Regions from separate parts of the Homo sapiens genome. Here region 1 is linked to region 2. Evidence: promoter capture Hi-C in human tissues and cell types (Jung and others, 2019). All regions are on one chromosome and are shown on one strand. The core of a region is centred on a gene start or on the middle of the fragment in contact, and the rest is flanking DNA. Distances in the headings are between cores, read along the strand shown.

Region 1 (4,961 bases), core at 499-2,998, 1.0 Mb before region 2:
TCTGCTCAGCTACTAAGAAATGATGACTTATGAAATGATTTCATTATAAATGAACTTGTTTTTTGTACTCGTCACGGCAAAGAAAGCAGAAAACTACTCTGAAACTAAGGAGAAAAAAAAAAACGCACACATTGATTTTGAAACCCAGAGAGTAGGCCTCAAACTCAGGGATAGTGTCTTTAAACAGAATAATGGGCATGTGGTGCTTAATAAATGTAGGGGATTTTTAAAAATCCTGTTGTGAGGAAGTATTTTCCTCTCTACCCAGAAGACAAAGAAAAACAGTGAGTGTTGACAACATGGCATTAAAAAGCCACCCCTACCCAATTTGTTATCCCCAAATATATATATTCTTTTTAATTTACTCTAAGCCAGCATGGTGGCTCATAGCATCTTACTTTTGAGTCATTATCTCTCTGCCATACACACAAGTCATAGCTGGGGATTTCAACTCACGGTGAAGCTATGCTGAGATTCCAGATCTCAGTAGTGTTGGCATGAGCGCTGGTCTCTTCAGTCATAGAGAAGACAATATCCTAGGGAGACTGGAATTAGTCCTATTTTGCACCATTCAAGCCAAAATGCTGCTTATCAAGAAGCAAGTAATTGCTAGCTAATGGCTATGGGGGAAAAAGAAACCCACTGCATTTCAATCTAAGCATCTTTTGGCCCATGACAATAAATAAAGCTGTGGAGAGTGTAAACATAAAGCAGGGACCGTTTCTTGAGGAGGTTAAATAGCAAACATTAAAAAAGGCGAGTTACCTCATCCGACTGGGAGGGACTGATTCTGGGCATTGGTGATACTTGGGGCGTTTTCAACTGTGTGCTGTTGCTGTCTGGCACGAGCTCTCGGTGGATGGTTTGGATGTGGTTCTGGAGTTCACTTTCAGACTCAAACTTAACGTTGCAGCTAGAGCAGCGTGTCTTCAGTCCCCCCACCTTGCCTTTCCCCTCAATGGCACTCAGATTCTCATTCTGGCCCAAGCCTGGTCTATTCGTGCCGGGAGGGACGTTAATGCCTGGGCTGGCGCTCTTACTGAGATTCACGCAGCCGGCACACAGACCATATGGCAGGCCATTGATATCAAGTTTCACCAGATCTTGCTTGGAACGGAATTCTTTGAGGCAAGATGCGCACTTATACAGTTTTTGGACGTGCTGGCCCCGCCCTGTGGTCTGAACTGCAGACCCATTCCCTGTCTTTTGCATGTGGAACGTCCCATGGATTTTGAGTTCCAAGGTGGAGGTCACTGTCTGCATGCACACCACGCAGCGAAAGCCTGTCAGGGAATTCCTCAAGTCAGGGTGCATTTGGCAATGCTCTAAAAACTCCTCTTCACTCTGGAGAGGCATCTTGCAAATCCGGCAGTTTCCAGTATCAAGACTCTTACTATGCGTGACTTTGTGTTCAGTAAGAGTTAAAAGGGAGGGAAACCGCTCTCCGCAAATAGGGCACATGTAGTGTTTGACAGGGCCTAGGTGGGTCTGCATATGTTCCCGGAGGCCATTTTCGGAGAAGAAGGTTCGAGAGCACACGTTGCACTTGTAATTCCCTTTAATGAGCTCAGCTTTCTTTTTCACGATGGCACTTTCTCCAGGTCTGATGTTGTGGTCTCGGAGCTGGTGATTCTGCAGCAAAGTTTCCATAGTGTAGGCTGCCCCACAAATGTCGCAGCCGTACATAGGCTCAGAGGTGTCAACGTCTTCTTCGCTCCCATCGTGACTGTTGTGGGACTCCTGGCTGTTGGTCAGCAAAGTCTGCAGCTCCACTTCCTCTTTCTGCACTTGCTCGGAAGCTCCATTTGTTCCACAGTTGGGTGTCTTGGTTTCGAATACACAGTGTTTTTCTCGCAAGTGTTTTTCTAACAAAATGATCGCATGGAAGGCTTTGCTACAGAACTTGCAGTTGTACTTCTTACTGTGAGTGGTGATGTGGCATTGCAGCTCCACCTCGGTGCCAAAGGACTCACCGCAGAAAATGCACTTATGCACTTTCCCTTGGTTTTCCAGGTGGTTGTGTTTCACATGGAGCTGCAAGTCAGTTTCGTTGCGGAAGTCCCAGTTGCAAGATGTGCACCTATAGACTTTCTTTTCGTTACTGTGCTTCACAGCCAAGTGGAGCTGAATGGAGACTTTTGAGTCAAAAACTTCCTGGCAGAGGGTGCAGCGAAAGAAGACAAAGGTGTGCATGTCCAGCAGGTGTTTCTGAAGGTCATCCACTGATGTGAATTGCTTGTCACAACTCTCACAGATGTAATACGTTGAAGTGATCATAAAGTGAATGGTAACATGCTTCAGCAAGGATTCTTGGTTGGGGAATTCCTTGTTGCACTGAGGACAGGTCAATTTTGGAAGCACAGTGTCGAGATGAGTTTTTAGGTGAGTCTGAAAGCTGTCTAGGGATGTGTACTTAGCACCACATTGATTACAGATATATTCTCCAGTGGGACGTGCAGGTGCACCTCCTACTGCCTGCATCATCTTAAGAGATGTCTGCTCTATGGCCACAGGAGATAGGGGGCTTAAGGCCCTGGATTTCTTCCCATTGTGGATATAATTCAGGGCCAAGGGAATGTTTTTATGATTCTCTTTGATATGCTTGTTCAGTTTAAGAACGCTGTTGAATATTGGCGAATTTGTACAATAGGAACAAGAATAGACTTCTACTACTGGTTCTTTGGGAGTCCCAAGCACTGGAGACCCAAATCGGGAGCCACTGAGGTCACAATGAACCTGTCTAATATGCTCTTCCAGGGAAGAGTCAGTGAGAAACCCCATATAGCAATGGGGACAAAAGAATGCATTACTATCTTTAGCTGCAGGGTTTGCAAATCCATGAGAACATCGGATGTGTTCCTGAAGAGTGTTGAGGTCGTTGACAACTTCGGAACAGAAGTTACACTGGTAGACAATGGCAGGCATGGCAGAAACAATCAGACCTGGGTCCTGAGCTTCATGCACTTGCTTAAGATGTTCATTTAGGTTATAGAGTGAGGGCAGGACCTCCAAGCAATACTGACAAATATGGGCCTGTTCTGGCTTATCTAAGTGCATAGTTTTCAGGTGAATCTGCAGAACTGCAAGACTTGAAAATAATTGTTTGTTGCAGTAAATACAGCTGTAGGTAACTTTTGCTTGTTTACTCGAGGGACCAGTCATGTCAGGGGTTTGTTGAGCGGCCCTCTTCCTCCCTCGACTCTTTGGGATTGGCGGGGCAGCTTCCACCATGGTTGAGCTGTCCACTGAGAGGTTGGAATCTGGAGTCGTACTGGACACGGAGGTATAGCCCACCGTGACCAGGGAAGGGCTGTTGCTGTGATTGCATGACTCCGGTTGCTGGTGACTGTCCATGTGGCTGTACAGTTCCTCAACTGTGTGGAAACTCTCAGAACAAATGCTGCATGAGTTCTTCTTCTCCCCGCTATGCACCTGCTCCATGTGGTTCATGAGGGAGGTCTCCTCTACGAAGAGCTCGTGGCAGTAGACACACTGGAGGGCCGCTCGGTCCTCATTTGGGGAGCATTCGGGGTGGCACTCTGCAATGTGTTTTTGGAGGTCTTCCGGGAAGTCAAAGCCTTCCTCACACTGACTGCACTTCTGAGTGTCCTTCATCTTCCAGTCCTCCATCCTGGAACCGGACTGAGAGCCGTCCTTGTTCCTCTCATGAACCTGCATGTGTCCGTGTAAGGAACTAGAGGACAGAAACCCACGGCGACAAATGGCACATTTATATGGCTTGTTGGACGTGTGAGTCTTTAAGTGGATCTTCAAGTGATCACTTCTGGAAAACGCAGCATCACATTCACTGCAGTGGTACTTCTTGTCCCCGGTGTGGAGTTTTATGTGGCGATCTCGGCTGCGCTTGTGTTTGAACAGCCTACTGCAGTAGGTGCATTTGAAAGGCAGTTTGTCACTGTGACTCTGCTCATGGTGCTTTAGGTAGCTGAGGCGGCTAAACGACTTGTCACAGAATTGACACGGGTATGGAAGCCCAGGGCCACCTTCTTCCTCTCCAAAATCGCAACCTTCTCCATGGCTAGGGGAAGTCTGATCCTTGCTAGAAGGTGAGGAAGCTGGCCAAGAGCAAGTCGGATCATCTTCAACATCCACTCCATCTGCAACAAGAAGCAATGACAAATTTCATCTGACATGTTGAGATTCAAGAGTGAGTTTACCGTAGCATTTCAACCAGCACGCAGAGTTGGGCCCTCTTGAATCTTTCAAGAAAAAACAAAATGAAAAGAGAGAATATTTGAGTGAGACATTTTCAAATCTGAGCCCAAAGCAGTTATTCTGCATTTACTTTTTGTTGAGTTGTAAAATATAAGAGGATATTAAATAGTTCTATGTCTAAATTACCCTTTTATTACTTTTTATCATTCTTCCTTAGAAGCAAGGTATATATTACACATTGACAATTTTATTAAAATGCAGATTTTAATATATTTAATGTTTCTTTTGTATTCCTTCTAAAATGATTTGCATATTATGTGAGCATCTGAAGAACCAAATGAAAAGAGGAAATATTACGGGAATGATTTAAAATTAATGCAGTCAACCCAGATGTCTAATATTTAATAAAAAATTCCCTCTGCATTTTGCTTGTTTTTATATAAAAAGGCAATTCTGCAGACCAAAATCTGTTACGGGGTTCTTATTGATACAGACCTTATTGCTTTCAGCAAAAAAATATTAAAAAGTAAGCACATGAAAGAAGACAGAAAACACAATAATAATTATGTCTTGTGTAATGAAAGATAACCAGGATTTCTTCAATAACTGAAATTCGAATTCCATAGGCCAGAAAATGGATTATTAAATGTTAGAAGGGTACTGCTAGATATTACATGTAGCTAGGATCAGCTAGGATCAAGAAAAAATGAGAGTTTCACAAGGGCCAGATTTTAATAGTGTATTTTGTTTGGAAAGTTCAAGAGGTGGCCCACCATATCTTCCTT
Region 2 (5,001 bases), core at 58-2,557:
GGTATCATGTTACATTTGTATGTGTCGTGAAATAATTAAATCAAGTTAACATATTCATCACTTTAACATGATTTGTCCTGAATGGAATCCCATTCATGAGGGCTCCACCCTTATGATCTAATCACCTTTCAAAGGCCCAACCTTCTAATATTATCAACTCCAGCTTTAGCATTTTAACACTCAGTTGGGGGTATAATCCTAGCACTTTGGGAGGCCCAGGCGGGAGCTCAGGAATTGGAGACCAGCCTGGACAATATAACGAGATCCCGTTTTTGCTAGGCATAGTGCCGCTCCCCTGTGGTTCCAGCTACTCGGGAATCTGAGGTAGGAGGGTAGGATGATCACTTGAGCCCAGGAGGTGGAGGCTGCAATGAGCCAATGGTGCCACTGCACTCCAGCCTGGGTGACAGAGTTAGATCCTGTTTCCAAAACAAAACAAAACAAAACAAAACAAAACAAAACACCACAACATTCAGATCATAGCATCTGCCTACTTGTAAAATCGCCTTTCAGTGCAGTGTTGGTTCCTACAAACATACAATATAATGACTTTAGCTTGAAATTAAGGCATCTTCTCTGACTGCATTACAAACAGGCAAGTTTTTTCATATCGATTCACTCAACACCTTTTATTTATCCAGATAATATCTAGGATCACGCTTAATATCTAAGTGCTAGAATCTAATTATATAGATATCAAAAGGCATTAAGTTTTTCAGAAGACAGACATACAATTTTAATGTTTAGAGGTGATAGAGACACCTATAGCAGCACCAAAGAAGAAACGATTTTCCATTTAAGATTTTAGGCAGTTTAACTCTAAAATATGAAAATAGGCACATCTCACAGACTATAAAACTATACGCCATTTTAATTTTTACAATGTCAATTCTAACTGCGAATTTTAGCAACGCTTCAGTGTGAAGACAGCAGAGAAAAACACTGAAAATGCGTGATTGAATTCTTATTGAGTCACTCTTCTCGGAAATCAGTCCTCCCCATTTTCTCCTTAAAAAATAGAATCCTGGAGATAGTCTAGTGCTGGCTTTTCGAGGAACACACTACAGGGGACACAAGGAGAGGAACACGGATGCCGCAGTTTTCCAAGTGCAGCTTGCCCCTCCCACGTGATAGGTTTCTGGCATCGCCCCTCCTTGCTGGCGATTCTGGGGAAGATTTTAACGCTCCCTGGAGCCGTCCCCAGTGACGTCACGGGCGCGGCTCCGCTCCTTGGCCAATCACGCGGCCGGATCCCGGGGAAACCCGGGGCGGTGGCGGCGGCCTGGGCGCGTGCGCGAGGTCTCCGCGTGGCTATATAAACATGGCTGGCGTGGCCGCGCGGCGGGGCCGTGCCAATCGCGCGTAGGGGGCTGTGGGCACTCGGGGTTCGTAGTTTTGAAATTTCTGGCGGGGGAGCAGCTGCGCAGTTAGGCTCGAGGTGTGAGCGACGACCTTCCGGGAGCCGCAAGTCCAGGCTCCCCCGCAGCGGGACCCGAGCCTGAGGCGCAGGGCTGAGGCAGCGCACGTGTGAGCGCCGCTGAGGAAGCTGCGAGAGGTCGGGCGGGTGTCGCTCCGGGGGCAGCCCAGGCTCGCGCGGACGAGAGGAAGGTCCGGGACGCGCGTGTCCTGCCGTGCAGCGGGCGCCCGTCACTGACTTCGCTGCTGCGGCCCCCGCGCCTCTCCCCAGCGATGCTGTGGAACCCGAACCGCACCGGAGTCGGCTGCCGCGCGCCAAGCCTCCCCTCACCTCTGCTCCCGGAACCGCAGCGCCAAAGCTGCCGCTGAGCCCCTGGGGGATGCCCGCCGGCCTCACCGAACCCGCCGGCGCCGCTCCCCCGGCTGCTGTGAGCGCCTCGGGGACCGTGACCATGGCCCCGGCCGGGGCGCTGCCGGTGCGGGTGGAGAGCACTCCGGTGGCCCTGGGCGCCGTGACTAAGGCTCCTGTCAGCGTCTGCGTGGAGCCCACGGCGTCCCAGCCCCTGCGGTCCCCCGTGGGGACCCTGGTGACCAAAGTGGCTCCGGTCAGCGCCCCTCCTAAAGTCAGCAGCGGCCCTAGGCTGCCTGCTCCTCAGATAGTCGCCGTGAAAGCCCCCAACACCACGACAATCCAGTTTCCTGCTAATTTGCAGCTTCCTCCAGGTATGTTGATAACCCTTTCCAGCCTTGTCTGTCGGTCCAGCTGGCGGCGACGGGAAAATTCGCAGCTCCAGATTGCTCCTAAAAAAACTGAGCCACGGGAACATTTCATAATCTTGACTTTACAGTTAACATATTCTTTTTGTGTCATTACTACATAGTTTTTCTTTTCATATTTAAGGAAAGAATCTTTTCACCTAAGTGATACAGTAAAAAGCTACATCAGCGTATTCGGGGGGGCTTTCAGGCACTGGCTCTTAGGTGGAGGAGATAATATAGCCGAAGTTAATTTCCATGTGGAGGATGGACCGGTTTATACCGTGGATTTCCATACGCTTAGATTATGTAGAAGTGCGTTGTACTTATTTTATTAATTATGAATGAATGAATGAACGAATGAGGTATGGTTTCGCTCTGTCGCCCAGTCTGGAGTGCAGTGACACGATCATGGCTCACCGACGTCGAACTCCTGGGCCCAATCGATCCTCCCGCCTCGGCCTCCCAAAGTGCTGGGATTACAGGCGTGAGCCACCGCGTACGGCCTAACAGTGAAGTTCTTGTGTATTACAACTGAAAGAGATTTTTAAATTTAACCAAGTCAGAATCGGTTTACTGCTTTCTAGTACCAAGTACGAATAATGCTGTTCCTGCACAATCTTTAAATGTCTTATGATTCTAACTTTCAATTAGCAGAACCCCTGACTGGGAACACGTGCCACAGTTGACAAACAGATCAGTCATGCAATTGTTACAGTTGCAATTGAAGCCATGTGTCAACGCTACTGTTAATGAGTCTTTCACTACTTTCTATCCTAGGGCTTTTTACTCTATTGGGCTGTATTTCATGGTTTGTATAAAGGTTTTGCTTTGTGATAATTTACATATTGTAAATATGCTGAATGATTTTGGGGTGTTCAGCCTTTCTTTACTGAAAGTCTCTTGGAGTTTGCTTTCTGTTAATTTTGTTTAGCAGTAATTGGAACTCTGAACTGCAAAGATGGTAAAAAAGGGGAAGCATTGATTCAAAAGATTCTATATCCCCTAATAAAATGACAGGGACCCTTTTTGTATCTAATGTTGTAGTTAGTCATACACGTTGTGGATAGATTTCACTTTTTATGAAGTTCTGTTTCAGTTTTATATGGTATACAAGGTATGTAAAATTGTTAAGGCACTGTTACGGCAGTGTGCAGCACCGAATACATTATTTGGCAGTTCTAAATTGTTATTCTGAGTTGTTATTCTGCATATATGTTTATAAAGTAGTTCTGAATGTGTTAGAATGAAATTACCCCCTAATTTGTTAAACTGTAAATCCTGTCTAGTCACTGAAGTTTGTTTATAAATAGTCAAAAAAAAAAAGTATTAAGAAAGAACTGTCTGAGAGGCTAAGGCACGAGAATCGCTTGAACCCGGGAGGTGGAGGTTGCAGTAAGCCAAGATATCTTGCCACTGCACTCCAGCCCAGGCAACAGAGTGAGACTCTGTTCCTCCCCATCCCTCCCCAACCCCCCAAAGAAAGAACTGTCAAGAGTGAAAATTTGCTGGTAAGTGAGAGTGAATCACTTACTGGAGGATTGGGGCCTTATCATGCTAAGCACTTTTAACAAATTATTTATATTCTTTTATTTGTTGGTCATAATAGGTAGGTAGCAAATAAGGAAAGAGGTCTCTAAGAGTAAATAATTTGTCCAATGCCAGGCAACCCATAGGTGTCGGGGGAGTTTTAGCTCAGGTCTGTTTATTCTTTCCACAACGCTATGCTTATTTTTTTACTTGTATGTGTACGGTATGCCTCATTGAGTGTCAGTACTGAAAGGTGATTCAGAGAACTTTAGATTCCAGTCTTTTATTTTATATACCAAGGAACCAAAACTGAAACTTGGCAGAGTTAAAATAATAGCATACTAGGACCATAGTCTAATTATGTTCCTAGCACTGTATTAAAACATTGCATGCTATTTACCTCTGAGAAACCCATACAAAAGAGAGAAAGAAGATAAGTTGTCTTTAGGAATTGGTCGTTATAGAGGAAGTGGGGATTTGCTTTTGGGAATTTTCTGCTGACGTGTGGCAGAAGGGTGTACTAACTACATTTGTGCTCTTATTGGATAGAATAAGATAACCAATAGTTGAAGAATAAAATGGAAACACTGATTAAAGTAACTTTTTAAAAAGGTTATGAATCTTATACTATTTCTTTTATATCTTTCTTTCTTTCTTTTTTTTTTTTTTTTTTCTTTCTCTGAGACGGAGTGTCACTCTGTTGCCCAGGCTGGGGTGCAGTGGCATAATCTCGGCTCACTGCAACCTCCGCCTCCCGGGTTCAAGCAATTCTCCCGTCTCAGCCTCCCGAGTAGCTGGGATTACAGGCACACGCCACCATGCTCGGCTAAATTTTGTATTTTTAGTAGAGATGGGGTTTCACCATGTTGGCCAGGCTGGTCTCGAACTCCTGACCTCAAGTGATCAGCCTGCTTCGGTCTCTCAGAGTGCTGGGATTACAGGCGTTAGCCACTGCGCTGGCCTGAATCTTGTACTATTTCCTTTGCATACCAAGAATTAGCACTTGATTACACAAGGGTGCTTATATATGTCAGTTCTTCATTTTTCAAGATAATGAATACTTTAAGTATTTGATTCTCTTTACTTCAGAGTTTCATCTATGAACAGAACTGGTTTAAAAAAAAAATATATATATATATACACACACACACACACATATACATATATATGCACCACAGGTTTTTCTAGGGAGCAGGAGCTTGAAATAAAAAGAATGCACAAGAGAATATTTGAGGAAATATTAATAAAAGGTTTTCAGTAATTTCTTCAGTCTTTTGTGAACATGTGGGGTTTTAGGCT

Evidence for each region. The method cuts DNA at HindIII sites, captures the fragments that hold promoters and counts their contacts. A contact is called where the count stands out against the background at its distance.
Region 1: a contact is called between a fragment that was not itself captured here and the fragment with the promoter of TAF4B in region 2, in 1 of the 25 tissues and cell types used here (dorsolateral prefrontal cortex).

What each region holds. Positions count from the first base shown.
Region 1 is chr18:25,223,580-25,228,540 of GRCh38, forward strand. It overlaps ZNF521 (zinc finger protein 521), which reads right to left. Exons shown (of 8, transcript NM_015461.3): 4 at 766-4,118. Among named protein-coding and RNA genes, the nearest start is that of ZNF521, 130 kb to the right of the region's middle. RefSeq lists an enhancer at 4,791-4,961. The HindIII fragment of the contact is 6,812 bases long and covers 1-4,961 here.
Region 2 is chr18:26,225,138-26,230,138 of GRCh38, forward strand. TAF4B (TATA-box binding protein associated factor 4b) reads left to right here and starts at 1,308. Exons shown (of 15, transcript NM_005640.3): 1 at 1,308-2,139. The coding sequence starts at 1,797. RefSeq lists enhancers at 938-1,007, 1,038-1,137 and a silencer at 1,788-1,947. The HindIII fragment of the contact is 12,633 bases long and covers 1-5,001 here.